Regions from separate parts of the Homo sapiens genome. Here regions 2, 3, 4, 5, 6 and 7 are each linked to region 1. The links are contacts of gene promoters, found by promoter capture Hi-C in blood cells and fetal thymus (Javierre and others, 2016). All regions are on one chromosome and are shown on one strand. The core of a region is centred on a gene start or on the middle of the fragment in contact, and the rest is flanking DNA. Distances in the headings are between cores, read along the strand shown.

Region 1 (3,233 bases), core at 400-2,899:
TGCTTTAACACTAAAAATCTGTAAACAAAGTTAATGGTAATCCCTCTATTGGAATGGAAATCCCAAATCAGTAATAATAGCTCATGAAAGCAAGGTGTCAGAAAACTGCTTTGCCAGCAAATCATTTGTCTGTTTAGAGCTCATCATTCTTTTTTCTTTTTTAAATCATCACGGATCAACATTTTTAATTTTTTTTTTTTTTTTTTTTTTTTTTAGATGGAGTCTCGGTCTGGAGTGCAGTGGCGCGATCTCGGCTCACTGCAACCTCCGCCTCCTGGATTCAAGCGATTCTCATGCCTCAGCCTCTGGAGTAGCTGGGATTACAGGCACGCGCCACCACACCGAGCTAATTTTTGTATTTTTAGTAGAGACGCGGTTTCAGCATGTTGGCCAGGATGCCCTGGGTCTCTTGACCTCGTGATCCACCCGCCTCTGCCTCCCAGCGTGCTGGGATTACAGGCATGAGCCACTGCGCCCGGACTTTTTTTTTTTTTTTTTTTTTTTTTTTTTTTGAGACCGAGTTTCACTCTTGTTGCAATGACGCGATCTCGGCTCACTGCAACCTCCGCCTCCCGGGTTCAAGCGATTCCCCTGCCTCAGCCTCCCGAGTAGCTGGGATTACAGGCATAAGCCACCATGCCCGGCTAGTTTTGTATTTTTAGTAGAGACGGGGTTTCTCTGTGTTGGTCAGGCTGGTCTCGAACTCAGGTGATCCGCCCGCCTCGGCCTCCCAAAGTGCTGGGATTACAGGCGTGAGCCACAGCGTCCAGCCAACGTTTTTAATTCTTAAAACTGTGTTTGAATGAGTGTTGGGTTTTTGTTGTTTGGTTTTCTTTGGGGTAAGGCGGTTATCACCTTACACAAAAAATTTACATCATAATATGAAAATGCCCATTGGTTCATTCAAGGAAAAACATAAAGAATTTCTAACAGAATGGATTAATGGGGTGGAAGAAATTTATCCATTCTCTAAAAATTTTTCAAATCCCAAAAACTTTTTTTTTTCATTTTACAAAATATTTACTTCAAACAGTAGCTGGCATTTTGCATTTAAGAGTTCGACCAAAAGGGACAGAAATATAAATTGCTAATTATTAGCAATGGAAATGAAAATGAATCAGAAGTGACAATAAAGATTTCTAAAATTACAAGTCGATGAAAAATGAATTTACTGTAAATTGGTTAACACAAATCGCTGTAGTAACATATCTGCTATGTGAAATTTTTAAAATAAAAACCAGGGCGGAGAAGGGGAGAAGGAGATCTCTTTCCAAGGCCCACCACCCAAATTCTAATTCTTAGTTCACAGATCCAAATAATAATAATGTGTTGTTCTATGACTTCTAGTATTAAAAGTAAATATAAATTTACTCTGCATATTAAACATTTACATTATTCTAGGACTTCTCCTTTAAATTACGATAGTACACACACAAAAACCTTATTTATCTAATTGCCTTTCGTTGGCACATAAAGACAAAGATCGTTTGCAACATAATCGCGTTCTGATAGGTTTGACCCTCTCTAGTCTTCGTAGAAGGTGGCCAAGGTTTCCGTTACCCCGGCGTCCCTCGGGCACCGCGGAAACGAAACTCCATCAGGCTCCGCCCCACGGTCTGCGGAGTGAGCCAATCAGGGCACAGCCTGCGTTGACCGCGTGCCGGGTGTCATGGCGGCCTGCAGGTACTGCTGCTCGTGCCTCCGGCTCCGGCCCCTGAGCGATGGTCCTTTCCTTCTGCCACGGCGGGATCGGGCACTCACCCAGTTGCAAGTGCGAGCACTATGGAGTAGCGCAGGGTCTCGAGCTGTGGCCGTGGACTTAGGCAACAGGTAAGGAGTGACGTGCGTTCACTGTATTGTCATAAGGTGTCTTGTCCAGCCAGCTTGAGCGTATTCATCTCCCAGGGTAGAAACCCGGTATCCCAGCTCTATTTAATCTCTCCTTACCCTAAACCTAAATTCCAAATTTCCCTTTCCGGGTTTGGAATGTGTCTCCTCGGACCCTCCTTCCCGCGCTATGTCGTTCTCTCTGTTGGTGTGTGCCGGGCTTCTTTGCTCCATCCGACTCTGTCCGTCCACCTGACTTCCGATCTCTTTACTTTCCGGGACCACTGGGCTCTTAAGTGGGAAACATTCCACCTAGGAATAACGAGTTGACGTGGGTGAGACGAGGCCCCCCGGGATGCTGGCCCGGACCCTGGAAGCTGGGGCTCTGATGCCCCTCGAGCTGGGACACAGACCTCAGCAGAGGCTCCGGGTGGCTAGTGCACCACGGGTCCCCCACGTCCCACTCCTCGGGCTCCTTCAGCCTCCTCTTCACCAGGAGCCTACCTTGTAGAAGTTGAACACCAGGTCCAGTTCACAGACATTGTGGAAATATTCGTTTAAGACCTGGGAGAGGAAGGCAGAGATGGTAAGAGATGGACAGGGAGAGAGCCACACACGCACAGAGATGGGAACAAGGTCATCAGAAAGAGACAGCAAAAAAAAGAGACCAAGAGGGAGGCAGGGGAGAGAGAGAGACAGTGACAGGGAGAGAGGCAAGGAGACACACAGAGAGAAACAAAAGCAAAGATCGATGCAAAGAGATGGCAAAAGGTCAGGCGCTCACACCTGTAATCCCAGCACTTTGGGAGGCTAAGACGGAAGGATGACTTGAAGTTAGGAGTACAAGATATCATGTCATCCAATCTAATTGATTGCCTAAAGTGTGACCACTATGACCCTGGGTTAGGAGGAAAAGGAAAAGTCAGTTTTTTGAACGCCAGTTATATGATCCTCGCAATCTTTTTAAACCTGTCGTAAAGGTACTATTACCCTCATTTTATAGTTAAGACTACAGAGGCTCAAAAAAGGTTAGATAACTTTCTAAGAGTCTATAAAAAAGTTAGTATTATGGGACTAGGTGGTTTTTGAATTTCTGTTTTTTGCTTACAAAGCCCATACTTTTTTTTAGGGGACCGCTTTTTAAAAAAAAAGTTTGCTTTAATCGTTCTTAGAATAAATGGAATTGCTAATGCAAACTTCATATATCTAAATTTTTTACGTGTACTTTGAAAAAATTTGGACCCCAGTTCATACAAAAAGCAAAAAAATCATTTTGAATCCAGGTCTCGCACTCTAACTTTGATAAGTAGTTGACATTGAACAGGTTAATTCACCATTTTCTTGTGCAAAGTGTGGAGAGTGGATTCCATCAAGGGTCTGCAAACTTTTCTATAAAGGACCAGATA
Region 2 (3,233 bases), core at 258-2,757, 460 kb before region 1:
GTGGCAGACCGGAGTTTTCAGAGTAGTTCACTAGAGTAGACACTAGGAATCATGTCTCAGATTATTTTTTCCTTGGCAGTCATTCAGTTTATTTATAGAATAACATAAAATAAACATTCTCAAACCATGCTGGGTGTCATCAAGAGAGATCACTTATTTTCCTCTAAATTAAAACACATGTACACACATACACATACACACAAAGTCTTGTTTTCAAGATGAACAATCACACCCTCCCTCCCATACCCTTTACCTTCAACCCCACTGCCCTACGACACCTTGTTTCCAGAATAGGAGAAACACAGAATCAGGCCGATGAAGGAGTTTATTTTGTGTGAAAACCCACATATTTTTAAGAATGGGGATTAAAATGACTTCGTTTTTTAGAAGAGCTGGAAATTGGTAGAGCTTTCCCTGCTGAAGAAAAAGTAACATTTGTATGACCAAGTTACTCACTTTATCCAAATATTAACAAACACCTGCAACAGCACTAAGGACAGAAATATTGCAAAAGGGGAAAAAGGTGGGTGAAAGCTAGCCCTCTTCTTATTTTGGGGGAGGTAAGTAGGCATGTGACTCCTTTTGGTCCCCTCTTTCCCCTGCCTCTGCCAGCCTCCACGTGGGCACAGAGCCAGAAGCAAGACTGGTAAGAGCACGTGTCCAGTCTCTCCATCACCAACTCTCACTCCCATGCTCACCTGGAGAAATCATTGTGTGAGTGGTTTACTAGCACTTCTCAAATCCCTGAAGGAATCCCCAACAGGTGATGAGTTATTTGGCTGGAGTTCCAGAGATGAGAGAAAGAAAGAAAAAGAGAAAAGAAGAGGAAGAAGAATCAACATTATTGAGCTCCTAGGAAATACCAGATATGTTATATATTCTATTTAGTTCTAGCAATCAAATATGAGATATTGGATTCATCTGAGACCTATGTCTTAAATCCCAGCTCAGCCTCTTACTAGCTATGCAACCTTGTCCTCTCTGGAAGTCAGCAGTCTCATTTGCAAAGTGGGGTTGCTAGTAATAATAATAATCTTCTAGGTTTATAGAGAAGATTACATGATGTCATGAATATAACTACTTAATGTAATAAACAGCCACAATTTATCAAAGATTAGCTCCATTTTATACACAAAGTATATGATTCAGAAGTGTAGGTAACTCTCCCAATAAGGTGATGAAAACAGAACATGGCACATTTCCTCCTGGGATGGTGACTGACTAATTCAAAACATTACGCATGAATCATATGGTTTTTAAATGCATTCTCTATATATTTAAGCATTTGTTATCATTAAACTCCCTTCATAATAATGTGAAACAATGATCCTTGAAGGTGGCTTTCAGATTCAGCATGTCAGTCCCTGCTCCAGGCCATTCTAGTGGTTGGGAATGAGAACTCAGCTAGCTGTGGGCTCCCTGGAGCTCCTTTGCGCGAGACCCGGGCTCTCCTGATTCCTTCCTCCACCTCTCTTTGGGATGGGTTCCCCTGGACTTGCTTCCCCAAACTCTTGGCCTGTATGTCAGCATCCCTGTTCCTCTCTTTCAGGTGGAATCCTTACCCACAGATTTTGTTGTAGGGGCAGTAATTACCCCCAAATATTGTACTTCCTCTCCTACATTTAAACCCCTTAAAGTTACAGGATCATCTGACTAGTTCTAGGCAGTAAAATGTGGCCAGAAGTGTATCACCTTTGCACCAAGGCAATGAAAAACCCATGCTGGATTCTCCAATCTTATTTCTCCTGTTGTGGAGTGTTAAGTGCACATGACCTACATGATACAAATACTAAAATGGTAGCCTTGGTTAGTATGGGTCCCTGAGGGACACTGGAGCAGGTTGTCACCCCATACCACATTGGATACTTTGTATGTATAAGAAGTAAACTTTCATTTTGTTATAACACTGATTTGGGGGCTGTGTGTTAATATAGCAAAATCTAGCATATCCTAATTTATACAAAATTCAATCTCTGCCTATAAATTAGGACTGGGTCTCTTGCTCTTGACCACCTCTCCAAGGTCCTATATTGGCTCTCATTTTGCCTTTATGGGACCAGCATGCTCTGGAGCAAGCACAGAACTTGAAGTTCTAGTCACCTCCCAGGGGTTAATTATCTGAATCTCTCCTTCCCTTTTCTCCCCCAAATGCTACCTCAACCTCAAGGAAGTCAGAGATTGAGCCAGCTGGAGATTAACCAAGTCAACAGAATAAAGTTGGGAATTCTCATCCTGAGCAGGAAGAATCACTGGAGCAAGGGAGGTGAAAGAAGGGAAAGAGTTGACATCCTAGATATCAGGAGTAAGTGTGCTAGTTCTGAAGGGGCTGGTCAGAAGTAGAACCAGGGTCAGAAGTAGAACCAGAGTCAGAAGTAGGGTCCTAGTCAAAGTCTTGGAGCCAAGGGCTTCAAGATGGAAAGATGAGGCCAAAGGGAAAGTAAATCATGATCAAAGGTCCTGGCCAATTTCATCTATCCCTGGTTGATATGCACCATTCACCTCTCCGGGGCCAGTAGGTAGGTATGCAGACATAACTCTGGCTGGTTTCAAGAGCCAGGTGTCTACCAACATGAAAGCACCAGCCAACTCTACTGCTCTAAGAGATCTGTTAAATCCTATCATGTTTGTAAATATACTGGACAACTTGATTTAACCCATGTTCCCTAGTGTGGGGTTCCTCCTTTCTCAAAAATCCAGCAACTCACCCATCTCTCACCAGTAGAAACCAACCCAGCATGCTTAATAACTTGCCTCTTACTCTAAATGCTTACAATCTTATTCACTTGTGTAGCAACTTCCCTAGAATAAGCACAGAGCTAATTGAGGAACTTGATGACTCTTTTCTCAAGCCAAACAAGATGTTCACATTACCTTTAACATTCAACTCTGTGACCAGATTATCTGATTTGGTTATGAAAGCACGAATCACATCTTACACCCCAAATAACATACAAAATCAGTGTGCAGTGGAAAAGTTAATTAAGATTATGAAATATTAATTATCCTTTTTGATCTTTTCATTTAAAAACTCATTCTTCCGTCATTTGTTCCATATTCAAAGCTTAACTATAGATAAGGTATCTTTGAATTTACAAGGCTATACCCAGTGATATTTACAAGATAAATCTTCATATCACGCACTGAATATTCAATGAGAAACAACACATTTCTGGGTAGCTCCTCTATTATTGATACTCTGCATACCTGGAATGATTGTAAATCTTTGCGTATAG
Region 3 (3,233 bases), core at 543-3,042, 470 kb after region 1:
CCCCCAAATATTGAATAAATAAATGTAGCACAACTTAAGCATTGCCCTAGATTTTGTTTTACTAGATGTTTTCCCTAATGTTTCCTTGCCCCCTTCCGTAGGCTGATGAGATGCCCCTCTGGCCTTCTGTAGCCTATTGTGCTTACCTCTGTCACACTGCCTTTTCTGCTTTGTAGCAGTGGCTCATTTACTAGACCTGGAACACTTGACTGGGAACCCTTGTGACTTGTCAACACATCCCTAAATGTCTAATATGAATGAATGAATGAATGAATGGTAATCTTGGTTGGTTTATGTAACTCAATGGCATTTTGTAGATGTTAAGGAACAATCCCTTTAGCTGTGTTCTGGTTTGAGAGCACCACAAGTCCAATGTCTTATGAATAGACTAGATTATTGTTCAGTGATTATTGATTATTCAGCAAACATATGTTTGAGTACTGCTCTGCTAGAAACTGCATTATGCACTTGAATGCATATGGTAGAGGAGGGATGATGGGGAAAGAGAACATTTTGTTTCCTGATCTTGTCACGCTTACAGCCTAACAGATGAGACAGAATATAAACAGGAAGTCTCTAAGGCAGTGTGGTGGAAGGATAATACCATGATGGAGGAAGTGCACAGTATTATGGGAGAACATAGCAGTGGCATCTGACCAATTTTAAGGGAATCCAGGACAGCTTTCCTGAAGCTGAAGAAAGAGTAAAAGCCAGGTGAATCAAAGTGATAGTATGTATGTGTTTTGGGGGTTGGGGGTAATATAGGAGGATGGTCTGCAGGGAGGGGGAGAGAATTATGTAAGATCCTAAGGTAAGAGAGGAAGTTCATGGGTGTGGGAATGGGGATATGGGGCAAAGGACAGGGACATGAAGAGAGTAAATTTGGTCAAAGAAAAAGAGTCATTAGTTTCTGAAGGGCACTAATAGGCCAAGTAAAGGAACTTGGATTTTATCCTAAGGGTAATACGGTAGGAAGCCACTGGTGTCCAAATGTCACTACCCCCTCTCTAATGATAACACCCGTTTCTTCCTCTTTTGACTTTTATCTTTTACTTTTTTTTTTTTTTTGAGATGGAGTCTTGCTCTATTGCCCAGGCTGGAGTGCAGTGGCTCAATCTCGGCTCACTGCAACCTCCACCTCCTGGGTTCAAGTGATTCTCCTGCCTCAGCCTCCTGAGTAGCTGGGATTATAGGCGTGTGCCACCACTCCCAGCTAATTTTTGTATTTTTAGTAGAGATGTGGTTTCACCATGTTGGTCAGACTGGTCTTGAACTCCTGATCTCGTGATCTGCCTGCCTCGGCCTCCCAAAGTGCTGGGATTATAGGCGTGAGCCACCGCGCCTGGTTATCTTTTACTATTTGAAATTATTTATTTATAGTTTGTCTCCCCTACTAGATCATAAGCTTCAAGGAGCCAGGGACCTTATCTTACTTATTGCCGAATTCCTAGCTGTGAAATGGTGCCTGGTGCTTTGTTGACACTCAATAAATACTGACTGAATGAATGAATAAACAAATGTATTTCTCATTTAGGAAAACTTGATTAATTAATGAGTTATTCCCTTGCTGGAACTACTTTATATTAATTCATAAATTGACTTTTTGCTATCCAGTTCATCAACATGAAGATAATTTTGGCCTTTTAATCTTCAGAATTATTTTGGTGTCTCCTCTTCTGTATATGGCTATGGGCAGTATTTACAGGCTGTATATGTTATTCACATAATCAGGTATCAGTTATATTGCCAGAACATGATACAATTGATTGAGACACTTACTTATCATGGCATTGTTTATATTAGTGAAAATAGCAGCCAGGTGCAGTGGCTCATGCCTGTAATCCCAGCACTTTGGGAGGCCAAAGCAGGCTGATCACTTGAGGCCAGGAGTTCAAGATCAGCCTGGCCAACAGGGTGAAACCCCATCTCTACTAAAATTACAAAAAATTACCCAGACATGGTGCCCTGCACCTCTAGTTTCAGCTACTCGGGAGGCTAAGGCAGGAGAATCACTTGAATTCAGAAAGTGAAGGTTGCAGTGAGCTGAGATCGTGCCACTGCACTCCAGCCTGGGCGACAGAGCAAGACTGTCTCAAAACAAAACAAAAATAGTGAAAATATCTGACAATGGGGGAATAAATTAATGGAACATCATACTATGAAATACTGTGTAAGCTTTAGAAGTCATGTTTTAAAAAACGATTTAACAACATGAAAAAGTGCTTTTAATATTAAGTGAAAAAAATGGGATGCACAACTGAATATAGAGTTTAATTTCAAGTTTTGTAATGTTTGGAAGGAAATATTCCAAAATATTAAATAGATATTTATTTCATTAATTTTGTCTGGTTTATATTTTCCGAATTTTATACCAGGAGTATGCTTCTGTAATTAGGGAAAAAGTTACGATGTTGCCTTGCCAGCCATTATTAAGCAAGCCAAGAGTTCTGTTTGAAGTTAATGTGACTAAATCTTAGGCACCAACTTCTGTATCCAACTTCAGTTGGACAATTTTTTTTTTTTCAGTAAAAACTCTTTCTCTTTTTTTTTTTTTGAAATGGAGTCTCGCTCAGTTGCCCAGGCTGGAGTGCAGTGGTGCGATCTTGGCTCACTGCAACCTCCGCCTCCCGGGTTCACGCCACTCTCCTGCCTCAGCCTCCTGAGTAGCTGGGACTACAGGCGCCCGCCACCACACCCGGCTAATTTTTTTGTACTTTTAGTAGAGACGGGGTTTTACCATGTTAGCCAGATGGTCTCGATCTCCTGACCTCGTGAACCGCCCGCCTCGGCCTCCCAAAATGCTGGGACTACAGGCGTGAGCTACCGCTCCCGGCCTTTCAGTAAAAATTCTTTATTCATTCCTTCATCACGTGACAGTTGGCCTTGAGTACTTACAAAGACAGCAGTTCCTGCCTCTCAGAAATCTAAGCAGACATTCCAGAGCTCACAGATCAGTGCCCCACCAACTGCTACCTGGAAGCTTCAGGGAGATGGGGAGCCTGGAGGAGGGGATGCTGCAGGAACCCCCTGGCACGCAGTGGGGCTGGGCTTCGAAGGCATCCAGGACTGAATTCGAGGTGGCAGGGGGCAAGCAGGCAGGCAGCGTGACGGTCATGAGGTGCGGGGTGAGGGCAGGAAGCCCACAGCATTCCTGACTTGGGGTCAGGGGAGACAGATTGGAGGGGCCCGAGATGAAGCCAGAGCTTACAGAGAGGCTGTAAGCCAGCACTCAG
Region 4 (3,233 bases), core at 504-3,003, 430 kb before region 1:
TGGGAACCATGGCAATAAGTGATAGCTTCAGTGAAGAACCAGCTGCCAGACCTGGCCCACTGTTCAGATGATGTATGCCCCATCCTGGCCCCTCTCTGAAGCAGCTACTCAGGAACATCCTGGTTACCCACAGAGGAATCACATTTCCAGCCCATAACTTGATTACCATTGCTTTCACTTGAGACTGCAAAATGGCAGTAGGTGAATGAAAATTTCTGGCTGATGTGTGTGAACTGGGTGCGTAATATTGCCCTCTTGAAAAAATAAAACAAACACAGAAGGATAGAAGGACAGAGTTGGGGAGGTAAGACAGACTTAATTGTTTTAATAAACGCAGGGTGCACAAGTCAGAACTGAATCTATGTCAACCTGTAAGCCTTAAAAATAGCAATAACATTTAAATGCTGAATTCTGGTGACTACACATTTGCTTGACTGCTTTATCACAGGGATGATGTAATCAACCAGCAAGGTCTGAGACCCTGGCATGGATCACAATGCAGAGACATCTGCCTTTTTGTGACATTGCTTCCTTGGATCTTTTGCTTCCCCTGGAAATTGTCTCTGATGGATCCAAGAATATCATCACAGTGCTTGCATCTGCAGTTTCCTCTAAGCTCCATTGCTCTCCTACAATCAGTCCTGCCTCAGGTAACATTGACAGAGCACCCTCTTGTCAGCTTACCCTCCTGCTCCTCCAGTCCATCTCATGGTCCTGCCCTTCTCCACTCCCTGCCTGAGTTGTTGCTCACAGTCCAGAACACTGACTCGTGCAAGGTCTTCTGATAACACGCTATTAGAAAGGCCTTCAGTGATATGCATGGAAATGGAGGCAAAATGCCCCCAAGGGTTTAGATCCCCAGGAGTGAGGAATTCAAAGTACAGGTATTCACATCTCAGGGGAACCATGGGCAACACAGCAATTTTGATCTCACCTCCCCTCTCTTTCATGTTCTACCCTGCCTGTCCCTCATTGGGGGTTCAATATCTTCCAACTTTCTACACAATTCTGCAGCCCCTCTCAATATTGTTTGCTTCCCCATGAAGGGGCTCATTCTTTTCTCTTTCCCCAACAACCTGGCTCAGGACATCCACCAGCAAGAATCATGCAGAGAGCAGGCTGTGGCTCTGAGCTATAAGAGATAGAAACTCAACTCAAATGCAAAAGGAATTTGCATAAATGAGAAGTTGAAGAGGCAAACCAACTCCAGGAATAGCTGGATCCAGGGGCTTAACGGTGTCTTCAGAAATCCCTCAATTTCTCAGCTCTGCCTTTCTGGTCTCGGCTTCATTTTAAGGTACACTCTTCCTATGTGATGGCAAAGAGAACCACCAGCAGCTCTAGGTTTACCTAATCCTTACAGCTTGTGGTTCTAGTGAAACAAGCAGATCCATTTTCCCAATAATTCCAATAAAAATCTCAGGGCAGGCTCCGGTTGGCCTAACTTAATCATGTATCCTCTCTGAAACATTTGCTATACCCAGGTGGACTGTGTATTCTAATTAGTTAGCCTTGGGTCATATATCTACCCTAAAACACATGGGATGGGCTCCCTGCTGAAACAGGGGTTGTATGACTAGGAGAAGGAAGATTAAGGGACATGCTGGACAAACATAACTATGGTTATAATAACAGTCCACTACACAGATTAAAATGCCTCTGCCCAGATTAGTAGGTCTGAGAAATTTCCAGCATTAGTAACAAGAAAGTAGGAATCAGGAATTATTCTTATCATGTTTCTTACACGTGGCTATTGAACTCCCTCAAAATATAATGTGTGGAATATTCATATCAGAATTATCCCTGCTAAGGCAACATTCCTTAAAACAATGGTGTTCAAATTTGATTTTAAGCACCAGGACTTTCCTCAAATAAATTGTATGTAAAATTCCAATACATAAAATGGATAAAAGTGAGTGGTTCTATTGACAGCTGAGAGCTGGAGGTTATGAAGAGTAGAGGGGCAGACACAGACATGGGAACTCAGCCCTGTCTCATTTGCTGGCCCCTCGGGTAACATCCCTGGAACCCCTGGGGCTTCTGAAAGTTAAGTTTCCACATATGAATTTTCGGGGGACAAAGACATTTAGTCCATAACATTTATCATGTACTTATATTAGAGATTTAATAAGCAGTATAAAGTCCAAATAGTTCACTATATACTGTGTTTGTTCTCAACTATCCTTTTTAATGTTTACATAAGTTTTTGAATCAAATGAACCTCTACAGAAAAAAAAAGTATCTACAATACAGAAGTGGTCCTAACAAAACTACCTTTAAAAAGACAACCCAATACAAGAATGAGCAAAGGCTGTGAATTGACAATTCACAAAAAAAGAACTCAAAATTGCCATTGCAGTGAAGGTATGCTCAGCCTTACTAGCAGTGAAGGAAATGCCAATGAAAGTAACAGTGGAAAACTGATTGTGCCCATCATAAACATATCCATTATAAAGAATTATTTAAAGGGCTGGGCGTGGTGCTTCATGCCTATAATCCCAGCACTTTGGGAGGCCGAGGTGGGCAGATCACGAGGTCAGGAGATCAAGACCATCCTGGCTAACACAGTGAAACCTCGTCTCTACTAAAAATACAAAAATTTAGCCGGGCATGGTGGTGGGCGCCTGTAGTCCCAGCTACTCGGGAGGCTGAGGCAGGAGAATGGTGTGAACCTGGGAGGCGGAGCTTGCAGTGAGCTCAGATTGCACCACTGCACTCCAGCCTGGGCGACAGAGCGAGACGCTATCTCAAAAAAAAAAAAAAAAAAAAAAAAAAAAAAAGAACTATGTAAAATGTAAACACTTACAGAGTGACAATACTCAGTGCTGACAGGCATATGGAGAAAAAAGCACTATTAATCATTACTTGAACAATGTGAATTAAGACTTTTTAATAAAGAAATTCAGTAATGTCAAAATTTTAAATGTACATATCCTTTGATCTAGCCATCTTATATCTGGGAATAAAGTCACCAGTAGCTAAGGATATATGTACAAAAATGTTTGTTGCTATATTATTTGTAATAGTAAAACAAAGCAAACCAAAAAAATAAATAATGGAACTAATCTGAACACCTATTGGTAGGAAATGGTTGGATAAATTTTGGCATATCCATACTATGGATATTATGTAGCTATATTAAAGAATTAATTAGTTATATGGTAGTTCAGCAGAGGGGTGGAGTCCTAATTAGGGAAAGGAAGTCAGGCTGGTGGGAGCAGGAGAAAGTGAAA
Region 5 (3,233 bases), core at 366-2,865, 430 kb after region 1:
GCCTGACCAACATGGAAAAACCCTGTCTCTACAAGAAACACAAAATTAGCCAGGAGTGGTGGCACATGCCTGTAATCCCAGCTACTCGGGAGGCTGAGGCAGGAGAATCGCTTGAACCCGGGAGGCAGAGGTTGCGGTGAGCTGAGATCGTGCCATTGCACTCCGGCCTGGGCAACAAGAGCGAAACTCCATCTCAAAAACAAATAGAAACAAAAACACAACAAAAACCTTATTACAATCCTGTGAACTAGCTACTGTCATTACTATAATGTAGATGAACAAACTGGGACATGGACAGTTGACAAAACATTCCCAACCACACACTAGGAATGAGCTGGGATAGGAAACCAGGCACTCTGGCTCTATTACTCCTAATGCCATACACACGAGCTGACTTAGGAGAAAACAGAAAGTACTGTTCGCACAATACTAACTGGTTCTACCGCCACTGTTCGCTTGCATTTGTTTTTTCCTTCTTGTTAGGAACACGTATCTTTGAAGGAGGTATCATTTCTCCCACAATTCTCCATTTAACGTTTCCTACAGTGTTAAGCACCACCGAGGCCTCTCATAGCCCCAGAGAAGAAGTAATTTGCTTCCTAGAAATCCTCACTGTATCCAGATTCCCTCCCAGAGGAGCCATCAGTTCTCATGGGTGGCACTTTTTCTCCAGCTGATTACACTTTTTTTCTGTACCAGTTAATTTTTCCAACTTCTAATTGAATAAAGGCAGTTTTCTTAAAAAAAAAAAAAAGAGAAAGAAAAACGGAAAGGAAGGAAGAGGAAAGGAAGGAAGAAATGAAGAAAGGAAGGAAGGAAAGAAAGGAGAGGGACAGAAAGAAAAAAAGGAAAGAGAGAAAGAAAGGAAAGGAAAGTAAGAAATGGAAGGGACCTGCAGAAACGATTCACCACGCGCGGCTGACCCTGGGAGGAGCCACAGGTTGAACCAGCGCCTCCCAGGCTGGACGCCCGCCGCGGACACCGCAGACAGTCCCACCCCCAGCGGCGACAGCAACTCTCTGAATTCCGGAAAGAACCTTTTCCAGCGGGACCGGAAGCCCGGCGGGGACCGTAGCGGGGACGGACTGACCTACCGACCATTCTTCCGGGTCCAGAAGGTGATCTCCGCCCGTGCTCAGAATCCAGGGGCCCGGGGCTGTAGGTAGGAGTTAAGTGGGTAGGATCCCTTAACCAGGGTTGTCCGGTGCAGGTGGTGTGTGTTGTTTCGCCTAACGTGTCAGTGGCACAAATCACGCGAACTTCATAAACATTGTGCGTTCGGAAGCCTTTCCAAGATGCATTTAATCCCTGCGTGAGCCCACGTTAGGCATTCACGAAGGCATGTGCACTGTTCTCTCGGAAGCGGCTGGCCGGCTTCCCCTCCTCGCGCGCGGCTGTGGGTGCAGGTCCTCACTTCCCAGCCTCCCATGGGCCCAAGGCCTTCTGGGCTCCAATTTGAGGCGAGCCACCCCAGATCCGTAATTTTTCTGCAGTGATTTATTTTTACCTTTCTGGTAAGTTCCAAAGCTTCCAGCTCACATTCAGACGTTTTCCCTAACGCAACTACGTATTTGCAACATACTTTTTTCAGATTCCTTGACAAGGATATCCTAGCGGCGAAACAACACCGTACTGGGAGTCAGAACGTCTGGGTTCTAGTCTTGACTGCCATTAACTAGCGGTATGACATTGGAGAAGCTTTTTTGACCCTTCTGGATTTCCGTTTCCTTTTCTGTAAAATGAGGAGCTTGGAGTAAGTGACAAGTTTCCTTCCAGTTTTGACATTTGGGTTATTGCCTCCAATGTGTCTTTCCAGTTCCTGCCTCAATTACATATCTGTGCTTTGGTTAATATCTCGTAGGGTCCTTCCTCCCACTCCATTAATCTGTGCTCTTCTCAAATCTGGTTTCATACTGATTTAAAAATTATTTTCTCAAGGAATCCTGTGTTACCTGAGCACTCTACTTCTTGGTCCAGGGGCACAAACGTAAATAAGATATTTTCCATGTGCCATTCTTAGAAGTATTTAATGTGTGTAAATACTATTGAATGAATTTCCAAATCTTCTTTTTTTTTTCTTTAGACAGAGTCTCACTGTCGCCCAGGCTGGAGTGCAGTGGCCTGATCTCGGCTCACTGCAGTCTCTGCCTCCTGGGTTCAAGCGATTCTCCTGCCTCAGCCTCCCAAGTCGCTGGGATTACAGGCGCCCGCCACCGTACCCGGCTAATTTTTGTACTTTTAGTAGAGAGGGGGTTTCACCATGTTGGCCAGGCTGGTCTCGAACTCCTGACCTCAGGTGATCCGCCCGCCTCGACCTCCCAAAGTGCTAGGATTACAGGCATGAGCCATCACGCCCAGCCTGAATTTCTAAATCTTAATGTGTTTATTTCGTTGGCATTAAGTTAGATTTTTCCTTGATCTTTACTCGAATAAGCCTTTTAAGGTAAAATGCTTGCTCGATTACACACACATACACAACCTCATAATTGTCCGAAGGTAAACAAGTTAATGACTTGTGAATATTTTTAACTTATAAGCAATGAATCCTCAAAGCTTATAAGCGAGTATCAAGACATGTGATATGGTTTTAAAATAGCTGATGATAAAGTATATACATCATCTCATTTTCTCCTCTTAGTCTTGTAATAGGAAGGACAGATATTCAAACACTTATTTATTTATTTATTTTTAACAGAGATCCGGAAAATGAGGCCCATAGGAAACAAGTGACTTGCTGAGTCCAGATAACACTGACTGTCAGAGTGAGTGTCCACCTAAGGTTCCTTTGTTGCCTAATAAGATACTTTCTTTGCTATACTGTACTTGTTTCTGTTATCATTTCTTTTCTTTCTTTTAAAAAATATTCAGTATAGGCCAGGCGCGGTGGCTCACGCCTGTAATCCCAGCACTTTGGGAGGCCAAGGCGGATAGATCACCTGAGGTCAGGAGTTCAAGACCAGCCTGGCCAACACGGTGAAACCCCGTCTCTACTAAAAATACAAAATAATTAGCCGGGTGTGCTGGCAGGCACCTGTAATCCCAGCGACTTGGGAGGCTGAGGCAGGAGAATCCCCTGAACCCAGCAGGTGGAGGTTGTAGTGAGCCAAGATCACGCCATTGCACTCCAGCCTGAGCGATGAGCAAAACTCCATCTCAAAAAAAAAAATTCAGTATATTCTATTTACCATGTCAGAACCATACATTTACTATGTCAGAACCATAAAATACACTTT
Region 6 (3,233 bases), core at 195-2,694, 380 kb before region 1:
TCCTTCGATGATGAAGTGAGGTCTCATTCCAAGTGCTTAAGATAATGAAACCTGTATGAGGACAGATGATGCAACATCAGCAATTTTTGCAGTGCTATGAATTTCAGGTGGCGTCTTAATTCGAAGTAGGTTACAAGATAAAATACGTGAAAAAGATACTCCAAATTTAAAACAGGACTTTCATGCAATAAGCATAAATGCTTCCTCTCTAAGTTAAGATCTGGGGCATAGTCTGTAAATTTTAGATGCACGTTTTCCTCTTGGATACCAATTTCTGACTATAGTAAACCAATAATTCTGAGGGCTCTGATTAAACATATTGAACCTAGCAAATATTTGTACTTCCCTCTCTTAAACCCATTGAAATGATAGTAAAGATATGCAAAAGGATAGGATATGAATAGGTGAAATAATTAGGAAATTCTCTTAAAAATGCATGGCATATGGGATTACACTAACAGATAAAATAGAACAGAGAAAAATAACTATTCAGAGTACAAGAGAAGCCGCAAGAGAAGCTGCAGTGAAGGTGGAATCTGTTACTCTATGAAGAGACCCCTGGCATTGGGAACCTGAAAGAGAGCAGACACTAATAATGCATCTGGCTAAAGAATCTGTTGGCTGGCTTTTGGGTGGTGCATAATGAAGAACGTTTATGTTTCCGACTTCAATAAGAAAAATTAAGGGAAACTAGAAATTCCAGGAAAAGGAAAATGCTGTACAAAAATTCATGACGAAAATATGAAGCATTATTATAGGAAATTTATGGAGTCTAAGAAAAGAAAATCTTGACTTAGAACTTGAAATATTCTACTTTAAGTAGATCTGATTTAAGAATATAAATTATATCTCCTCTACAGCTGCACTCTGGTTCTGCAGTGAATAATATTGAACAATATCATAATATTATAAATGATGTTTATCTATTTTTGCTTCTCTGAATCAATGTATAGACAAAGCGATGAATACTTAATTAAAATTTCCATTCAGAATGTAAATGTTTTAAACCTTGGCAATATAAAAGTAGTGGTAGAAATGATGAACAGTAGGAGTTAGAGGTGGGAAGGAGAGATGGGAGAGCGTGTAGGAGTGACCGACTCCATATCATACACCATGATATGTCTGAAGTTGACAGAACAAGAAATAAAAGTCAAAAATATTATTTAAAGTATAAACAATAGAAGAACAAAAAGAAAAAATGGGAGCAGATACAGGGAAAAACGAAGCAGAGTAGTTGCTATGAGCTGAAATAGTAATCTTTTACAGCAAAGAGTTAAAAGACAAGCTTAAGTTGGTAAGATAAGAAATAGATATTAATGTTGTATGAAACAGATACTTCGAGTTATAGTGATAATCCCTGGAAGAGCTAAAGACAGAAAACATCATGGGTGGCAGCCTCTTGAGAACCAGGCTATGGATAGTGGAACTAGACACACTTTTCATCTGGCACCCTTATTTTTTATTGAAATTTTATTTCCATGAGCATGTACTTCTGAAATTCTGATTAGCATGCTGACATTATAACATCCCAAGTTTTGAACCTTTTTGATTTTCTAATCCTCAACCGATGAGGCAGTGACTGTATGTAATGATCAAAGCTTGACAGCAGGTTAAATTTCCATGGTCTTCAACTCTAAGGTGAGTGGCCCCTCTCTAGAGCTCTCCAAGTCTGACATATATTGCCTTCAGAACTGTAGAAGCAAACGTTTCTGAACTATTTCCAACTACCTACTTGCCTGTCCTTCCAAGATTACCAGTTTTCTGTGGATGTCATCTTCTCTTACAACCAAGCATCATAAATCCCTCATAGATCTCCTTCATGAGGTGTGCTGTTCAAGTCCGAGAATGCCTCACTTTTAATGATCAAAAAAGAAAAAGCTGACAGAACTGAAATCTTGACAATAGGAACTTTCAACTTTCAGCTCTAGCAGAGGGTATTAATTTCACTTCTGGAGCACTCATAATCTAAGAAACTTCTGGATCCTAATGACAAGGATGGAAACAACAGTTATTAAATCCCATAAATATCCCCTCTGCCTAATTATATAGCAAAGCCAAATGCTGAAGAACCACAGGATAAAATATAATGCTATGCATTCCACTTCCAGAGATATGAAGCTGCCATTTTTTCCTTCACTCTCTGTCTTCGTCCAGCCTCCAAGCACACCCCTAGCTTCACTTGACCTTACTTGGTTCAACATATCCCCAGGATCACTTCACTTTGCTTGCTTTAACATGTTTTCATACCATGTCACCTTACTTGCTTTAGCACATAATACTGACAGATGAATAAAATGAAAACTGCAGCTGAAATGATCAAAACTGCTTAAAGGAAAAAGATGCTGAAGTTTGCCATAGTAAGAAAAAAAAGAGCATAAATTTTGAAGTAATACAAAGCTGTCATAGGGTTTCAAACTAGGAAGTTCAAGTACCTTGGGTAAGGTCACACAGCTTGCAAATATTAGAGTCCAGCCCACAGTTGTTTTCTTAAGTAAATAATGATTAGGCATAAGGGAGATGATCATCCTCGAACCTAAAAATCTACTACAAACTTAATGAATATTGCCTGGCCTGAAAATTGATGATGCCACAAACTTTTTTCTACATATTGGCAAATTTCTACTGAGGTTTATTCTAAGCCTTGATGGGGTACTTAAGTTCAGGAAAATAAAAATATGGATTTTTTTCCTCATATAAACCACAAAGAGATTGGGACAAAAATCATTCCATCTAATTACACCAATCACTAAGAAGAGTAAATATAAGAGTGTTTTATTTCTGAAAAATTAGAATTATTTTAAAGGTAACCTATTTTGATTCCAACATTACAGAATTAACATAAAGTATATATTCCCTAAAACACATCAAACTTTTATCCAGTTGTACTCTTCTTTATATAGCTAAATGTGAAAATGTAAAATGTATTAATTATTAAGGGGTGCAGTAAAAAAAATTAAAACAATGCCTTAAATCTATACTAGCCACTTCTATAATATAAGCTATACTATTTTACCTCTAACCTTGGGATTTATATCGCTTGCTAGAATTAATCTGCAAATAGGTTACATCTTATCAGGCAATACCAACTGGTATTAAGCTGATATTAGAGCTTCACTAATAGAGCTGGTTGTTTGGACCACTATGTTAAGAAGGAGTCTGATGTTGTCCACGTATAGTTGTAAGGAAGACCCTAATCAATTAACAATCTTTACTATGGAAGCAAAAAGAGAGAA
Region 7 (3,233 bases), core at 548-3,047, 320 kb before region 1:
CAACTCAAATAGTACCTATTGAGACCTCTTTCAGATGCATTCATGCATATATACAGCTGAAGTTGTCTTGCAAAACTGATGGACAAAATTCAACCTTGTGATATTAGAAACTGTAACTTACGAGTTAGCTAGTTTTCACATTGCAAATAAATCAGCACCTGGTCACTTTAAATAGCAAAATCACCTTCTGGACGTGCGATTTATAAAAACTATTTCACATAAAGCATTTCAGGTGTTTATACACAAGGTCTCTCAAATCCCTGCAAAATCTGCACACATGGAACATTCAGCAAAATGTAAAAAAAAAGTACACACTCGTATGAATAATTAATTTAATAATACTTCTTCACAGTGTCTTCTTGACAATGTAATTAACTACTAAACGATAAACCATTACTTGCTATAATACAGTATATCTAGTACATACATATAGTATTATTCTCATGAAGCAATATTTTATAACTATTTTCAGCATTTTGGAGAATTGGGAAAAAGAAACATTACTATTTCAAGTAGAATAACTAAACATTAAAATTAGGAATAATTCTGCTAAAAAGATCTCAGCTTTTTTCAGCATTTTAATTCTAAGCTACTTTTTTTAATTTGTGTTTATGGAAATGTTCTCTACATTTTTTAAGGAACTGTGTGCTAAAAATGGTATTCCAAATTAATGATTTTTAAATTGTATCTAAATTTTTTCATTAAATATATATAACTTTTAAATGCAAACAAAATGAATTTGTACTTTAAAAAATATGTAGCATTTTGGTAGTGGAAAGGAATGCCTTTGTGAGCTCCTTCATGTTTCAATTGATATACTGTCTTCTACACAAGTGCCGCATGAGCTATACCACACTTGATTTAATTGATTTTATTATTATCAGGCCTGTTAATGTTTTAGAATTGCTTATGCCAGGGAGAAAGGGAAAGAGTGTTTGTTCTGAATGAGATTTATTTTATAAAGCACAAGTTCAACTCATCAAAATCTCTATTTTTTAGAAAGAAATTAATTTGTTGTTCTTGCACATGTTTAATTAAACTACATTAAGAAAAAAAAAGGCCTTAGAGTTGAGAACTTTCCAAACCATTTATTTTAGCTACAGAATTGGCAAAAACATACAAGATGATGTGCAATTTCCTTATTTTGGAGGATTAGTTGTTTGGAGTGTGGTTACGGAGTTTCTCAACCCACACTTTTTCAACGTTGATAACCATTAAGAAAAGACATAGAATACGCAATTCTGTTCACTCAAATTTGGTAGATTCTGGGAGTGAGTTTCTTACCCCAACATTAGTGTTACAATGCACACGAGTTTAACTGTAGTTAGCTACTTTCATTCAGGGCTCTTGTTAGCATCTTATAGTAAAGGCGTGGATGAGGAGGGGGGAAAATAAAGCTTTGACAGATGGTACTCAGCGTTTGACTCCTGCTGAGCTCAGCAGGACCTGTGGTTTCCAAGGTTAGGGCTGTCAAAATGGCTCTGTCTATCAAGTGAATAACAAAGTGTAGACTGCCTGTCTGTTTCCTATACAAAACTTAGATTTCATTTGCCATTATTGTCGGCCTTTCTGCTGATTTAATAACTTCTAAGGAGAAGAACTAGGGGTTCTGATGCAGCCTCACTATTTAAGAAACTACTTGGAAAGGGAATTCTCAAGGGCTGAAAGAGGTAGGCCGCGATCTGATCTCTTTCTCTTTGGTTTCTCTCTAAGGCTTCAAGACTTAAAAAGGATTCAAAAGACACCAAAGGTTCACTTTTGGCTAAAAGCTAAATGTGAACCTTTCAAAATGAACTCATTGCTGTCTTCCTCTCAAAAGGGTAAAATTTTTTTTATTAAGAATCCTTGGGATAGTGGATAATTATTCAACTAGAAATATTGAGAATGAAAATGGAACTGTTTCTGTTATGAAATACATGGATCTGTTTAGATGTGTTTGTCAGGGCCTGTTTTTCACCTTTCATAGCTCTTAATATTAAAAACTCTCCCATTTTTTTTTACCTATTTCTAAAGCCTTCAGATGGTCAGATAAAGTACCTGATGCTGAAAAACAGGAAATTGAATCATGTCTCCAAAATGTGCCTTTTGTCATGCACTGTTACAGCTATATTTCTTGGTAAGTCTGATGTTCTCCTGTATGCATATTTTGTGATTACAAGATTGTTATTGACCTCTTGGGATTTTAATAAAAAGCTTGTGGATTCATAAACCCAGGCTTTCTATTAAGATATGCTGAAATTAGGATTGGGGTTTTGCTTCTGAATAAACTAATTATATTTCAATATTTATATTAAATATTAATACACTTAAATTTAATACACTTAAAGTGAAACACCTGATTGTTATTTCAAAAATGTGGCATTTAAAAAATGACAGACTTAGACCTTTGTCCTGTCCCAAAACTAAGAATTTTAGTTGTCATTTTTGAGAAGCTGATAAAGGGAAATCTCGTCTCTTTTCAATGCTGGCTTGTGCAAACATTTCCACTAGTGTAGTGATTATTCCCAACCAGCATATCTGAAAAGATGACATTCTCCCTACAATATAGTTGAAGAAATTTCTTCTGCAAATATTTAGTTTATATAAATCCCATAATCATAAAGGGAACGTTATTTGGAAGAATGGCGATTTATTGTGATTTTTAGTACAGTTCAGTATTTTGAACATTAAACTTAAAAAAAATTTAGGCTTTAAAATATTTACTTTCTTTTAAAACTTATTTTAAAAACCCTAACCCAGTGTTTTTTCTGAGACACAGGGCCTATACTACATATTAGATATTCAGTAAATGTTATTGAATTGAAATAAAAAGGATAATGACTATTGAGTAAAAGATGAAAGGAATTCTTGAATTGAAATAAAAGGGAGACAACTTTTACGTCAGATTATTGTAAGAAATTATCAAATGCCAATTTAGCATAAATCCTTTTCCATTTGTGCTTGGGTTTTATCCTGGAAATGTTTGATGCTTTTAATCATCTCTGTAGATAATAATGATAATTAAACAGAAATTTCAAAAAAAATTCTAAACTAAAAAGCAGTTTTCTTCTCCCATTTTATCTCTCTGCCTTTAGCTTGCTTTGTTCAATAGGGCAGTTTCTAAGCTTCTTTCTAACAGCCTATACTATCACTACACCATCCCTGCCCCCAAAGGAGGTTTTGTTAATGGTAAACTTGCTGAATCAAATTTGCTTTTTATGTGTTTGCATTTTTTGAAGAGTCTCTGAGGGGTT

Evidence for each region. Contacts are between HindIII fragments. The CHiCAGO score rates a contact against its expected background, and 5 or more counts as called.
Region 2: a fragment that was not itself captured here is called in contact with the fragment with the promoter of PNPT1 in region 1 in 1 of 17 cell types (endothelial precursors); the score reaches 8.1 in endothelial precursors.
Region 3: a fragment that was not itself captured here is called in contact with the fragment with the promoter of PNPT1 in region 1 in 1 of 17 cell types (activated CD4 T cells); the score reaches 5.0 in activated CD4 T cells.
Region 4: a contact is called between a fragment that was not itself captured here and the fragment with the promoter of PNPT1 in region 1, in 1 of 17 cell types (endothelial precursors). The highest score is 9.5, in endothelial precursors.
Region 5: a fragment that was not itself captured here is called in contact with the fragment with the promoter of PNPT1 in region 1 in 3 of 17 cell types (activated CD4 T cells, naive CD8 T cells and fetal thymus); the score reaches 6.8 in activated CD4 T cells.
Region 6: a fragment that was not itself captured here is called in contact with the fragment with the promoter of PNPT1 in region 1 in 1 of 17 cell types (endothelial precursors); the score reaches 5.7 in endothelial precursors.
Region 7: a contact is called between a fragment that was not itself captured here and the fragment with the promoter of PNPT1 in region 1, in 1 of 17 cell types (endothelial precursors). The highest score is 6.0, in endothelial precursors.

What each region holds. Positions count from the first base shown.
Region 1 is chr2:55,692,260-55,695,492 of GRCh38, reverse strand. It overlaps PNPT1 (polyribonucleotide nucleotidyltransferase 1), which reads left to right and starts at 1,649. Exons shown (of 28, transcript NM_033109.5): 1 at 1,649-1,830. The coding sequence starts at 1,670. RefSeq lists enhancers at 1,460-1,609, 1,640-1,699, 1,710-1,829 and a silencer at 2,400-2,459. The HindIII fragment of the contact is 6,564 bases long and covers 1-3,233 here.
Region 2 is chr2:56,152,807-56,156,039 of GRCh38, reverse strand. It overlaps LOC105374690 (a long non-coding RNA gene), which reads right to left. Exons shown (of 9, transcript XR_940109.3): 7 at 699-779. Among named protein-coding and RNA genes, the nearest start is that of CCDC85A, 30 kb to the left of the region's middle. The HindIII fragment of the contact is 3,113 bases long and covers 1-3,063 here.
Region 3 is chr2:55,225,513-55,228,745 of GRCh38, reverse strand. It overlaps CLHC1 (clathrin heavy chain linker domain containing 1), which reads left to right. Exons shown (of 13, transcript NM_152385.4): 2 at 542-714. Among named protein-coding and RNA genes, the nearest start is that of CLHC1, 5.2 kb to the left of the region's middle. The HindIII fragment of the contact is 770 bases long and covers 1,408-2,177 here.
Region 4 is chr2:56,124,436-56,127,668 of GRCh38, reverse strand. All of the region lies in intron 5 of LOC105374690 (a long non-coding RNA gene), which reads right to left. Among named protein-coding and RNA genes, the nearest start is that of LINC01813, 36 kb to the right of the region's middle. The HindIII fragment of the contact is 4,725 bases long and covers 1-3,233 here.
Region 5 is chr2:55,267,098-55,270,330 of GRCh38, reverse strand. It overlaps MTIF2 (mitochondrial translational initiation factor 2), which reads left to right and starts at 1,100. Exons shown (of 16, transcript NM_002453.3): 1 at 1,100-1,162; 2 at 1,592-1,753; 3 at 2,696-2,762. RefSeq lists enhancers at 239-1,062, 1,008-1,157. The HindIII fragment of the contact is 171 bases long and covers 1,530-1,700 here.
Region 6 is chr2:56,074,394-56,077,626 of GRCh38, reverse strand. It overlaps LINC01813 (long intergenic non-protein coding RNA 1813), which reads left to right. Exons shown (of 2, transcript NR_135590.1): 2 at 1-2,973. The region is part of intron 3 of LOC105374690 (a long non-coding RNA gene); the gene reads right to left. Among named protein-coding and RNA genes, the nearest start is that of LINC01813, 14 kb to the left of the region's middle. The HindIII fragment of the contact is 313 bases long and covers 1,288-1,600 here.
Region 7 is chr2:56,012,492-56,015,724 of GRCh38, reverse strand. It overlaps MIR217HG (MIR217 host gene), which reads left to right. Exons shown (of 3, transcript NR_126406.1): 2 at 2,014-2,116. The region is part of intron 3 of LOC105374690 (a long non-coding RNA gene); the gene reads right to left. Among named protein-coding and RNA genes, the nearest start is that of MIR216B, 13 kb to the right of the region's middle. The HindIII fragment of the contact is 796 bases long and covers 1,400-2,195 here.